Linked DNA regions of Homo sapiens: region 1 is linked to region 2. The links are contacts of gene promoters, found by promoter capture Hi-C in human tissues and cell types (Jung and others, 2019). All regions are on one chromosome and are shown on one strand. The core of a region is centred on a gene start or on the middle of the fragment in contact, and the rest is flanking DNA. Distances in the headings are between cores, read along the strand shown. Region 1 overlaps MPHOSPH9 (M-phase phosphoprotein 9). Region 2 holds the start of PITPNM2 (phosphatidylinositol transfer protein membrane associated 2).

The links. The method cuts DNA at HindIII sites, captures the fragments that hold promoters and counts their contacts. A contact is called where the count stands out against the background at its distance.
Region 1: a fragment that was not itself captured here is called in contact with the fragment with the promoter of PITPNM2 in region 2 in 1 of the 25 tissues and cell types used here (psoas muscle).

The regions. Positions count from the first base shown.
Region 1 is chr12:123,182,880-123,188,327 of GRCh38, reverse strand. All of the region lies in intron 13 of MPHOSPH9 (M-phase phosphoprotein 9), which reads left to right. Among named protein-coding and RNA genes, the nearest start is that of PITPNM2, 35 kb to the right of the region's middle. The HindIII fragment of the contact is 5,791 bases long and covers 1-5,448 here.
Region 2 is chr12:123,148,737-123,154,696 of GRCh38, reverse strand. PITPNM2 (phosphatidylinositol transfer protein membrane associated 2) reads left to right here and starts at 3,607. Exons shown (of 26, transcript NM_020845.3): 1 at 3,607-3,944. MPHOSPH9 (M-phase phosphoprotein 9) reads left to right here. Exons shown (of 24, transcript NM_022782.4): 24 at 1-482. RefSeq lists silencers at 3,224-3,423, 3,444-3,703, 3,724-3,863, 3,964-4,053. The HindIII fragment of the contact is 7,714 bases long and covers 134-5,960 here.

The DNA.
Region 1 (5,448 bases), core at 1,305-3,804, 35 kb before region 2:
GAAATGGTTGTACCAGTTTATTTTCCTGCCAGTAGTGTATGATAATTCTTATTTTTCTAGATTATTTCCAGTGCTTGGTATTGTCAAGCCTTTTAATTTTTCAAGTGTGATTAAGAGGAAATGGTTATACGTATTGCATCCATCTTCTTTTGGTATTTTTATGGGATACAAGTTTTGGGTGTTTTTTGTTTGTTTGTTTTTGAGATGGAGTCTTGCTCTTGTTGTACAGGCTGGAGTGCAATGGCGCAATCTTGGTTCACTGCAACCTCTGCCTCCCGGCTTCAAGCAATCTCTTGCCTCAACCTCCTGAATAGCTGGGATTACAGGCACCCACCACCATGCCTCACTAATTCTTTTTGTATTTTTACTAGAGACAGTTTCACCATGTTGGCCAGGCTGGTCTTGAACTCCTGAACTCAGGTGATTCACCCGCCTCAGTCTACCAAAGTGTTGGGATTACAGGTGCGAGCCACGGCGCCCAGCCCAGAATTACCTCTTACGTAATATATGGTATGAGTAGGAATTGAACTTGATCCTCCCTGCCTCCAATGATTAACCAGTTGTCCCAGAATCATTTTTAAATAGATTTTCCTTCCCTTACTGACTTCTGTTGTACATTTTATTTCCTTCTCGTGTAAATCTCCTTTGAGGCTCTGAGCTGTTCCATTGGTCTGTCTCTGAATTGGAACCACATCATGTAAATTATTAGTATTTTATAACAAGTGTTGATTTTTGGTGCCATTTCCTTATCTCGTTTTTTTGCTCTTGTAAAAATTATTTTGCCTATTTCTTGGCTTTGTTTTGTTTCATACAAATATTACTGTCAGCATGCCACTCTGCTTTCGATTGGAATTGCACTGAATTTACAGATTTATTTGGAGACAGCTGAGACTTGAAATATTGATTCTTCCCATACATGAACGTGGTTTAAATCTCAAGTATTTTTCTTTTTTAAAAATTAAGGCCTTTTACATCCTTTGTTCATTTTTTTCTCGAGGTATATCATATTCTAGTATTTATGTATTTCTAAATAATGTACTGATATTGTTCGTTCGTTCTTTTTTTTTGAGACAGAGTTTCGCTTTTATTGCCCAAGCTGGAGTGCAATGGCGCAATCTTGGCTACTGCGGCCTCTGCCTCCTGGGTTCAAGTGATTCTCCTACCTCAGCCTACCAAGTAGCTGGGATTATAGGCGAGCACCACAACACCCGGCTAGTTTTTTGTATTTTTGGTAGAAACAGGGTTTCACCATGTTAGCCATGGCTGGTCTCGGACTCCTGACCTCAGGTGATCTGCCCGCCTCAGCCTCCCAAGGTGCTGGGATTACAGGCGAGAGCCACTGCGCCTGGCCTCTTTCTTTCCTTTTTGAGATGGAATCTTGTTCTGTCGCCCAGGCTGGAGTGCAGTGGCATGATCTTGGCTCACTGCAACCTCCACTTCCTGGGTTCAAACAATTCTCTTGCCTCAGCCTCCTGAGTAGCTGGGGTTACAGGCGCGTGCCACCATGCCTAGCTAATTTTTGCATTTTTAGTAGAGATGAGATTTCACCATATTGGCCAGGCTGACCTCGAAATCCTGACCTCAAGTGATCCACTTGCCTCAGCCTCATGAAAGGCTGGGATTACAGGAATGAGCCCCTGTGGCTGGCTCGATATTGTTATTTCTTAAATTTTACATATTATCTATAATTGTGGTGGGTGAAGATCTAGGTCCTAGCTGAAGATGAAGATCTAGATCCTAACTGTGATTCTGGGTGTATGTTTTCTTCAGATTTGAAGGCTTTGTTTTATTGCCTATGACATGATCAATTCTTTTCCTTTCTCTCCCCTCCCATGGCTTTCAAAGTTTCAAGCCTGCAGAAAAATTGTAAGAATGATACAATGAAAACCCTTGTATATTCTTTACCTAGATTTACCAGTTGTGAGTATCTTACAGCATTGCTTTGTCTTCATAGAGATATAAACTTTTTTCTTTTGCTGAACTATATTTGAGAGTAAATTAGACACTATGATAATTTACCCTTAAATACCTCAATAGGTATCTCTGAAGAACAGAGATATTCTCCTGTGTAATCTCTTTTTTTTTTTTTTTTTTTTTTTTGAGACGGAGTTTTGCTCTTATTGCCCAGGCTGGAGTGCAATGGCACGATCTCAGCTCACCACAACCTCCGCCTCCCGGGTTCAAGCAATGCTCCCGCCTCAGCCTCCCAAGTAGCTGAGATTACAGGCGCACACCACCCCATGCCCAGCTAATTTTTGTATTTTTAGTAGAAACGGGGTTTCACCATGTTGGTCAGGCTGGTCTCGAACTCCTGACCTCGTGATCCACCCGCCTCGGCCTCCCAAAGTGCTAAGGATTACAGGCTTGAGCCACCATGCCCGGCCTCTCCTGTGTAATCTCAATGTACTTTTCATCCTCAGGAAATTTAACATTGATATAATACTAATATGTAAATACATTCTGTCTATATTCAAATGTTGCCAGTTGTCTAAATAATATCCTTTATAGATGTATTGTTTTTTGCTTTTTAATCCAGAATCCAATCAAGGATCACACATTGCATTTATTGTTATCATTTCTTTGAGACAGGATCTCACTCTGTCACCCAGGCTGGAGTACAGTAGGCATATTCATAGCTCACTGCAGCCTCAACCTCCAGGGCTCAAGTGATCCTCTTACCTCAGCCTCTCCGACTGCTGAGACTACAGACACTACAGGCTATCACACCTGGCTAATTTTATTTTTTTGTAGAGATGCGGTCTCACTATGTTGCTCTTGCTGGTCTCCAACTCCTGAGCTCAAGCGATACTCCCACACTGGCCTCCCAAAGTGCTGGGATTACAGGCATGAGCCAATGTGCCTGGCCCACATTGCATTTAGTAATCATGTTTCTCATTCCTTTCTAATGTGGTTCTTTTTTTCTCTTTCTGGAAGTTTTTTAGGATCATCTTTTTATCCTTGGTATGCCGAAATTTTGTAACAATATTTTTTTTTTTTTTAGTTTCTAACAACTCTTTTTCTGATTGATCATTTTTAATAGCTTTCTATTCCTGTTTTGAATCTAATGTTGTTATTTCTTTGAGAATATTATGGCTTCCATTGGACTGTTTCTGTAGTTTTCATTATTCTGAGTTAAGCTTTTGTTTTCATTTGAAGTATCTTTCATATTTAATGTCTTTTTCCAAGTGTTGGTTCTTTTGCAGGCTCACATTTAAGAGGCACTAGGCTGGGTGTGGTGGCTCACGCCTATAATCTCAGTGCTTTGGGAGGCTGAGACGGGTGGATCACTTGAGGCCAGGAATTTGAGACCAGCCTGGCCAACATGGTGAAACCCTGTCTCTACTAAAACTACAAAAATTAGCTGGGTGTGATGGTGCACATCTATAATCCCAGCTACTCGGGAGGCAGAAGCATGAGAATTGCTTGAACCCAAGAAGTGGAGATTGCAGTGAGTTGAGATCACACCACTGCACACCAGCCTGGGTGACAGAGTGAGACTCTGTCTCAAAAGATAAAAATTAAATTAAATAGGCCGGGCACGGTGGCTCATGCCTGTAATCCCAGCACTTTGGGAGGCCGAGGCGGGTAGATCACAAGGTCAGGAGATGGAGACCGTCCTTGCTAACATGGTGAAACCCCGTCTCTACTAAAAATACAAAAAAATTAGCTGGGCGTGGTAGCGGATGCCTGTAGTCCCAGCTACTCAGGGGACTGAGGCAGGAGAATGGCGTGAACCCGGGAGGCGGAGCTTGCAGTGAGTAGAGATCACGCTACTGCACTCCAGCCTGGGCGACAGAGCAAGACTCCATCTCAAGAAAAAAAAAAAAAATTAAATTAAAGCGAAGCAGTATAAAAAGCTATTGAAAGACTCTTAAGTGTATGGATGGGACTTAGTTCCTGGTAGCCTTCATTTTCAGGCGATTGTAGAGTCATGCACCAGCCATTTTGTTAGGGGACCTCCAGATGTGAATGTTTAGAAGGTTTTTTTTCTGGGGTTGTTCAGTTTTCGTAAAGACAGGTCTTACAGTCTCTTGCCTGGGACCTATCAGTCAGATTCTGGCAGTGGAGGAGGGGGAGGTCACCTTTTTTCAAAAGAAAATTATTTGTTAATATATTTATTTTAGAGACAGGTCTCACCTTGTCACCGAGACTGGAGTGCAGTGGTGTGATCATAGCTCACTGCATCTTCAAACCCCTGGGCTCGAGGAATCTTCCTGCCTCAGCCTCCCCAGTAGCTGGGACTACAGGCACATGCCACCAGACCTGGCTAATTTTTAAATTTTTTGTAGAGATGGGGTCTTGCTATATTGCGCAGGCTGGTCTCCAACTCCTGGGCTCAAGTAATCTTCCTCGGCCTCTCAAAGTGCTATGATTATAGGTGTGACCTGCCCTGGGTGTTTTTGAAGTCTTTTACTTTGTCATTTTCTCTTTATCCTCTGCCTCCCACTCCACTATTATCCTTGGATTTCCAAAGTTCCATTTTTCTCCCCATTCATTTTCTCCTGCTGTCCTGCCACCTGGCTGAACAGTCTACTGCTGTATGGGATGTGTCCTGGGCTCTGATTACTTAAGGAATTTCAACCAGTTTTCTGTGGTCAGCCCTGTGCCTCAACCCTGTCCATCTCTAAACCTGGGTTTCAAGGTGGGCATCTCTCACAGTTATGCTGACATCAGCCTGCTTTTCATCAGCATTTCTGGATTCAGGCACTTGGGGTTGTATCCACTTCCACCCTGCTAAGGCACTTTTTTCCTTTTTCTTTTTTTTTTTTTTTTTTTTTTTGAGACAGAGTCTTGCTCTGTCACCTTGGCTGGGGTGCAGTGGCACCATCTCGGTTCACTGCAACCTCTGCCTTCCAAGTTCAAGCAATTTTCCTGCCTCAGCCTCCTGAGTAGCTGGGACTACAGGCACGTGCCACCACACCTGACTAATTTTTGTATTTTTAGTAGAGACGGGGTTTCGCTATGTTAGCCAGGCTGGTCTTGAACTCCTGACCTCAGATGATCCACCTGCCTCGGCCTCCCAAAGTGCTGAGATTACAGGTGTGAGCTACCACGCCCGGCCAGCACTTTGTTTCTTTTCAATTTTCTAAGACTTTATTGAAATCTCTCACCTGTTACTGTCACCTCGTTTGTTTTCTCTTTAATTTCTTCATTGTTAGTTTAGTGGACTCTGAGGGTGAAGAGAAGAAAATTCTGTTATTAATTTGTCATCTTTAACCAGAAATCTCACATATGTGTTCTTATATTTATTTATTTTTATTTTTTAAAATATTTTTGGTAGAGACGGAGTTTTACCATATTGGCCAGGCTGGTCTTGAACTCCTGACCTCAAGTGATCCACCTGCCTCAGCCTCCCAAAGTGCTGGGATTACAGGCGTCAGCTACCACGCCCGGCCTCTTATTTATTTATTTTTGAGACAAGATGTCACTCTGTCACCCAGGCTGGAG
Region 2 (5,960 bases), core at 2,358-4,857:
ATATTTCCTTGTTCCCTACTTTTATTGTAAAATCTACTACATTCTTAAGAATTAAAAAATGCCATTTCAGAAGAGATGATAGTTTTATCTTGCCAAGGAATTATCTTCTTAGTAGCCTATATTGGCTTATTCCAAAAAAGGCGTTAACCTCCATCAAAACATCTTCTGCGCCTCTCTCTCAGCATATGCTTTGATATTTGAAGTGTGTAATAGATTGGAGCTATCAGTCACTTATTTCTAAAAAATGTATTCTTTTTTCTTCATAGCTGTGAAGAGGGATACCAAGGAAAGTTCTTTCTGCTGTCTTTCTCTTCGGTAATGCTTATCTTATGAACACTCAACTGAAAAAACACTCCACCTAAAAGCAGGAAAGATGGCAATTCTAAATAGCAGCTATTATCCCCGGGTATAAACTATTTTTGTTGTTGGCTTGGGGCTTTGCTGCAGGTATTAATAGTTTAAAAAGAAAAAAAAAAAAAAAACCCTAAGCAAATCTGCCACCTCTGGGAAGTGCCTTTTAAAATGCAAATAGAAAGTGAACTCTCCCCTGATGCCTGGATCTGCCCCCTTCCTTTCCCTTGCTAAGCCTCTGTTTGCAGGAGCTACTCCTGAGGTATGGAAATGGTCTTTGCAACTGAAGGACTTTTCCAACTGAAGCAACAGATGTAGCTAAAGTGGCCGTGCTAGGGTTGTGCAGAGCTGGGCTCAGGGGACAAGAAAGGAGAGACTTGGAGCCAGAGAGACCTGGGTCACATCCTGGCACAGGCCTGCCTTTCTCAGCTATAAGATGAAATAAGAAAACTCCTTTCATTAAGGGAGATTTTGTAAAGTGCCTGGTGCTTAGTAAGTGCTCAAGAAATATTATATTTCAGATTCATTGAGTTAAGTAGGTTTTTGAGGTAGCATCCTTTTTTTTTTTTTTTTTTTTTTTTGAGATGGAGTCTCTAGTTCTGTTGCCCAGGCTGGAGTGCAGTGGTGTGATACTGGCTCACTGCAACCTGTCTCCTGGGTTCAAGCTATTCTCCTGCCTCAGCCTCCCGTGTAGGTGGGATTACAGGTGCATACCACGCCTGGTTAATTTTTGTATTTTCGGTAGAGACGGGGTTCTCACCATGTTGGCCATCCTGGTCTTGAACTTCTGACCCCAAATGATCTGCCTGCCTTGGCCTCCCATAGTGTTGGGATTACAGGCGTGAGCCACTGCGCCCAGCCTTGAGGTAGCATACTTTCTGAAATAAAAAAGTAGATTATGTCCGAAGCAGTTGACCTAAAAACTGCCTTGGACTGACATTTGTTAGGTGGTCTAAGATGTTCTCTTCACGCTTTGCAAAAAAATGAGCTTTTTTGGAGTTTAAATTAAGCATCCCTCTGGTGTGTTTGGTTTTTTAGCCACCAAAAATTTAACAAATTTGATAACCTGTCACGTGTAAGTTCAGAAAGCACTTTGGTCTTAATTGGTGACTTGGGGGTTATTTGGTATAAATATAGGTTGTTTTTCTAAAAATTATTGCCAGTATCCTCCAAATAATTGCCCCTTCAAATGTTTCATCTAAAGGTGACAGCTTGTGGGCAGAACCATGCACAGGAAGTGCCTGCCAGTGGGTGTTAGGAGATGTAGGTGGAGTCTGTGATAGCCAACCAAAAGCTATCCCCTTCTCGCCCAGAAAAGCCACGTGCTTTGCTGGACGCTACTTGAAATCTGAACTCTGCACCTACATATGTAGTAAAATTAGACACTTTTGTCACTTTAATTTTTAGATTATCTCAAGTTTTCACTAGATTTCAATGTGCCACTTGTGCTATGAGTCTTTAAGAAGCTTTAAAAAATAAATGCACACCTGTAGCCTTTTACCATTCAGACAGGTAGATTATATTTACCTGTCATGAGGGACCATGTATGGTTGACAGTTGCAGGTTTGATTAAATCCACTATATTGCACAAATTTTGCTGGAAATAATTTCCTGCCCTGCCAAGAGCTCTATGGTAGTTTGATAATAAACTACTACCCCAGTATTCTTAGGAACTGTGTTACTAAGTCTTTTCTGCCTGATTTGTACTTTATTTCCATAGACCCCTCAGATATGTGAGGAATCAAGCCATAAATGTGCATTTGCTGGACATTATGTACCATGTCATCTCTATGACTACAGATTTCAAGGATAATTTTTACATCTAACAATTTCACTGTAACAGTGACCGATAATGTGAGAAATGTGCTTTTTACAGTGCTGCTGGTGGGTAGACAAGTGCTTGCTGCAGTTGTTTCTGAATCTAGCCAGATGCTGGAGTCGTGAAGCTGTAAGCTCCGCGGGAGCAGGGACCATCTCTCTTTCTTGCACTACAGGCACTCAATAAATACTTGTGGCTGTGAACTGGCGTGTGGCCTTTGTGTGTTTATTTCTGCTAGCTGGCTGCAGGAGCGGGTTGTTGGTGATTTTAAGTCCCAGGCATAGAGAAGTCCTTGAGTTATGGGTTAAGGGGCGTCCATCCAGGAGCACAGTTCCCGTTGGGACTCTGTGGGCTCCGCAGATCTTTCTGGATGGATCCTAGGGCACCTCTTGGTGGAGGGAAGGAGCTGAAGCGTTCTAGGTGATGGTGGTACGCCTTGGTCCTCCTCTGCGTGGTCATGGTCAGGGGCACCTGGAGGCGAGTCGGGAACGATGGCCTTCCTGGCCCGTTCAGTTGGGTTCTGCCGTGACCCCAGGAGGTGAGCAGCTGTCAGGGGCTCGGCCTCCCCGGCTTCATCTGGAGTCATCTAGGCCGCCTTAATTTTAGCTTGTCCTCTCTCCTCCAGGGGAGCACCGCCGTCTCCTCAGCCTTATAAGGTGACAAGTAGGGATGGGTCACACATCACTAAGTTTTAGGTGTGCTCTCTTTAGTTCCATGACTTCAGATTTTGCCAAACAAGTCCACCCTGGCTCAACCTAACAAACACCTCATGTTTTTAAGGAATGTCACCAGGCGCTCCCCCACCGGGGGCTCTTCCCATTGGAGAGCCCTGTCGTGCCAGATCATCCGGATTAAACTGTTCGTGATCCTCTTCCAGCTACTCCCTGAGGTGGGGACCGGGACGGCTGCGCTCCCGGCTCTGCCGTTCCCTGGGCCGCGGCCCGGGCGTCCTGAGGGGAGAGCGCGGACCCACCGTGTGGCGAGCACCGCGCCCGGGGCTGGGCTTCGGTGAGCTGCCCGCTGCGCTCTGCCCTCCCTGGTTTACCATTTCGCTCCTAAGAAACTTCATTTTTTAAAATGAGGCTGTTTTAAGAGTCACAGTGGCCGCAAGTCGGCCGGTTCCCGCCCCCGAGTGCGCTCGGCTGCTGCGGACGGTGGGCGAGGAGCCCGGGGCGGGGATCCGCGCCGCCGCCCCCGAGTCCAGTCCCGGGCCCTGAGGACACGGGCGAGCCGGGGAGGAGCGGGGTCGCCGCGGCAGGTCTGAGGAACCAGGCGGGCTGCCCGAGTCGGAGAGGTTTCTTCCGGCGGAGGCGGCGGGGCCGGGCCGAGACTCCGCAGGGACGCGCCCCCGCCGCCGCCGCCGCCGCTCCCCCGCGCGGCCTGAGGAGGCGCCGCCGCCACTGAGGGAATGCGAGCCCGGCCCGGCGCGCGCGGGCAGCAGCGGCCGCTGGGGTGCGCGGGGCACCGCGGCGCCGCGGCGTAGAGCTGTCCAGCCGGCCCCGGCCGCCCGCCCGGCGCTTCCTTCTCAGCTCGCGGCCGCCTCAGCGAGAGCCGCCCGCCAGCACGTGCGCCGCCGCCGCCCGCCTGCGACGCTCGGGAGCAATGCCCGCCGGGGCTCTGCCGCTCGCCCGGGGCCAGCAGGCGGCGGGGGCGCGCGGGGCGCAGCCGGCCGGGCCGGGGCCGCGGGGCGGGCGCTCCCCGTGAGGCGGCGTGAGGTGGCGGCGGCCCAGCCGGGGCCCCGAAGAGGACAGAGCCCGCGGCCGCGCCGAGCGGGGTGAGTGCGTCCGGGCGGCCGCTCCGCAGGCCCGCGGTGAGTCCCGCAGTGCCGGGCGCTGGCCGGGGACCTGGGGATCTGGGCGGCGGCTCCCAGAGAGGCCCCGGCCCGCCCGCCCGCCGAGCCTCCAGCCCGCCGGGGGCTGGAGGAGGGAGCGGAGACCCGGGCAGGGAGGAGGGTGTGGCGTACGGGAGCCCCGCTCGGGAGACCGCCCGAGCCTGGCCTCAGTGAGTCGCCGGCCCTGGATCCGTGCCCGAAACGCTGATTTCCGAATTTCCGTCGGTCGCGACCGCGTGGGGGACCCCCGCCAGGGACAAGTGTCATAGCGGTCGGGGGGCAGGCGTGGGCAGTGCCGGTGCCAGGGCGAGGAAGGGGCTATCGGGAGGAAGCGGAGGTGAGCCCCCGGCCCGCCTTCTCTGCTTCCCGCCTCCAGCTGAACGTCCCCAGGCCCGGGCCGTGGCCTCTGCTTGTCGGGGGCCCAGGGTTGGGGTGTGGCCCGTCTCCATCCTCAGTGCCCCCTTCGTGTGGTAATGGGGTGCCGGCTCTGTCTTCTTCCCACCCCGAATCCTTTCTTATCCGTGGCAGGGCTGATCGGGGGGCCTTGGGGAGAGGGAAAGTTCAGTGTCCCCCGCCCCAGTGTGCACTGCCTCCCCGCAAGAAATCCCAAACGGCCACTCCAGGTGAACATAGTGCGCGCGGTGCAAATGTCATTTCAAGGCAAGTCCTCCAGGCTTGTCCCCTTTCCACCGACTTGCTCCTGCAGAGACATCCTGCACTCCTCTCCCTCCCACTGAAGTGTGGGCTGGGTGCCTCTCCAAACACCCCGGCCTACCTGCCTCCCCCACCCAGAGTCGGGATTCTTCAAAGGAGACCTCACTGGAACATCTGTCTTTGTCCACAACCAGCTCTCTCCCCGGCCTCCACCTGGGAGTGACCAGAGCTGCTAGGATAGACCCCCCACTTCTGGAGGGAAGGCAGTAAGTGCTCCCCTTCATCTGAATCTCCCCTAACATCCATCCCCCAGACTCCTCTCTGCTCTGAACTCCCACTGCCTGCTATCTGTATCTCCTGTGTAACTCTTATCACCGTCTGCCTTATTTTATAGTTACTTTTCCATCTGCCTTATCTCCCCTGCTGGACGGTGAGCTCCCGGGCTGGAGTTGATTCATCTCTGGTCTCCTGCCCTGGTCAGTACCCTGCGTGGAGTCAGTGTCTCCGTGGAGCAGAAGGCCCCTCCAACGCTTGCCTCTGGGACCATAGCTTGTCTGATTCCTGGACTGTTGCTGTTAAATTACTTTCCTTCCATGAAGGGACTGTATTCTGTGGTTGGAATGGACTTCCAGCCCTCTCCCACTGCAGAGAGAAACACAATGAGTTAGGAAGGGCTGTTTTTCTTGTAAGGAGTGGCTTGCCAAGTGAACAGGACAGTACATCCTCTGCCCTGAAGATGGCCAGGCAAAGACTCCAGATTCTCTGGGTAGTGAGTGTTGAATGGGCCATTCTCTCTCCTGGTCTTCCCCAGCTGCTCAGGCGTGGGAGGCAGCAGGGGAGAGAAGTGGACTGCGGGAGTCGAGAGACTGGGGTTCCAGGCCTGGCTTTTCCCATAACTTGCTACAGGAGCTTAACTAAGTCACTTGGTTTCTCTTGGTTTTGGTTGCACCTTATGGAATCTGAAAGAATTCCTCTGCGTATCTAAGGCCCCCTGGGATCTGGGTCCTGTCTACCTTTTCTGCCTCCTCTCCTACCATTTCATTCATACCCTAAGCTGCAGTCCTCTCAGGCTACCTAGAGGCTTTCAAAGGCATGGTGCTCCCATGCCCTCCCTCTCCCCAGGTGCCTTCAACTCTTCACTGGTTGAGACCCAGTCTTGGCCTTCGCAGGTGGAATTGGTCCCTCTTCTGATTTTCGAACCACCCTAGTCTGATTTGCTTGCCACACAGAATGGCCCTTATCTGTTTACACGTGCCCCCCACTAGACTGTGAGCTCCTGGGCGGTTAGTGCTGTATCACGTTTCT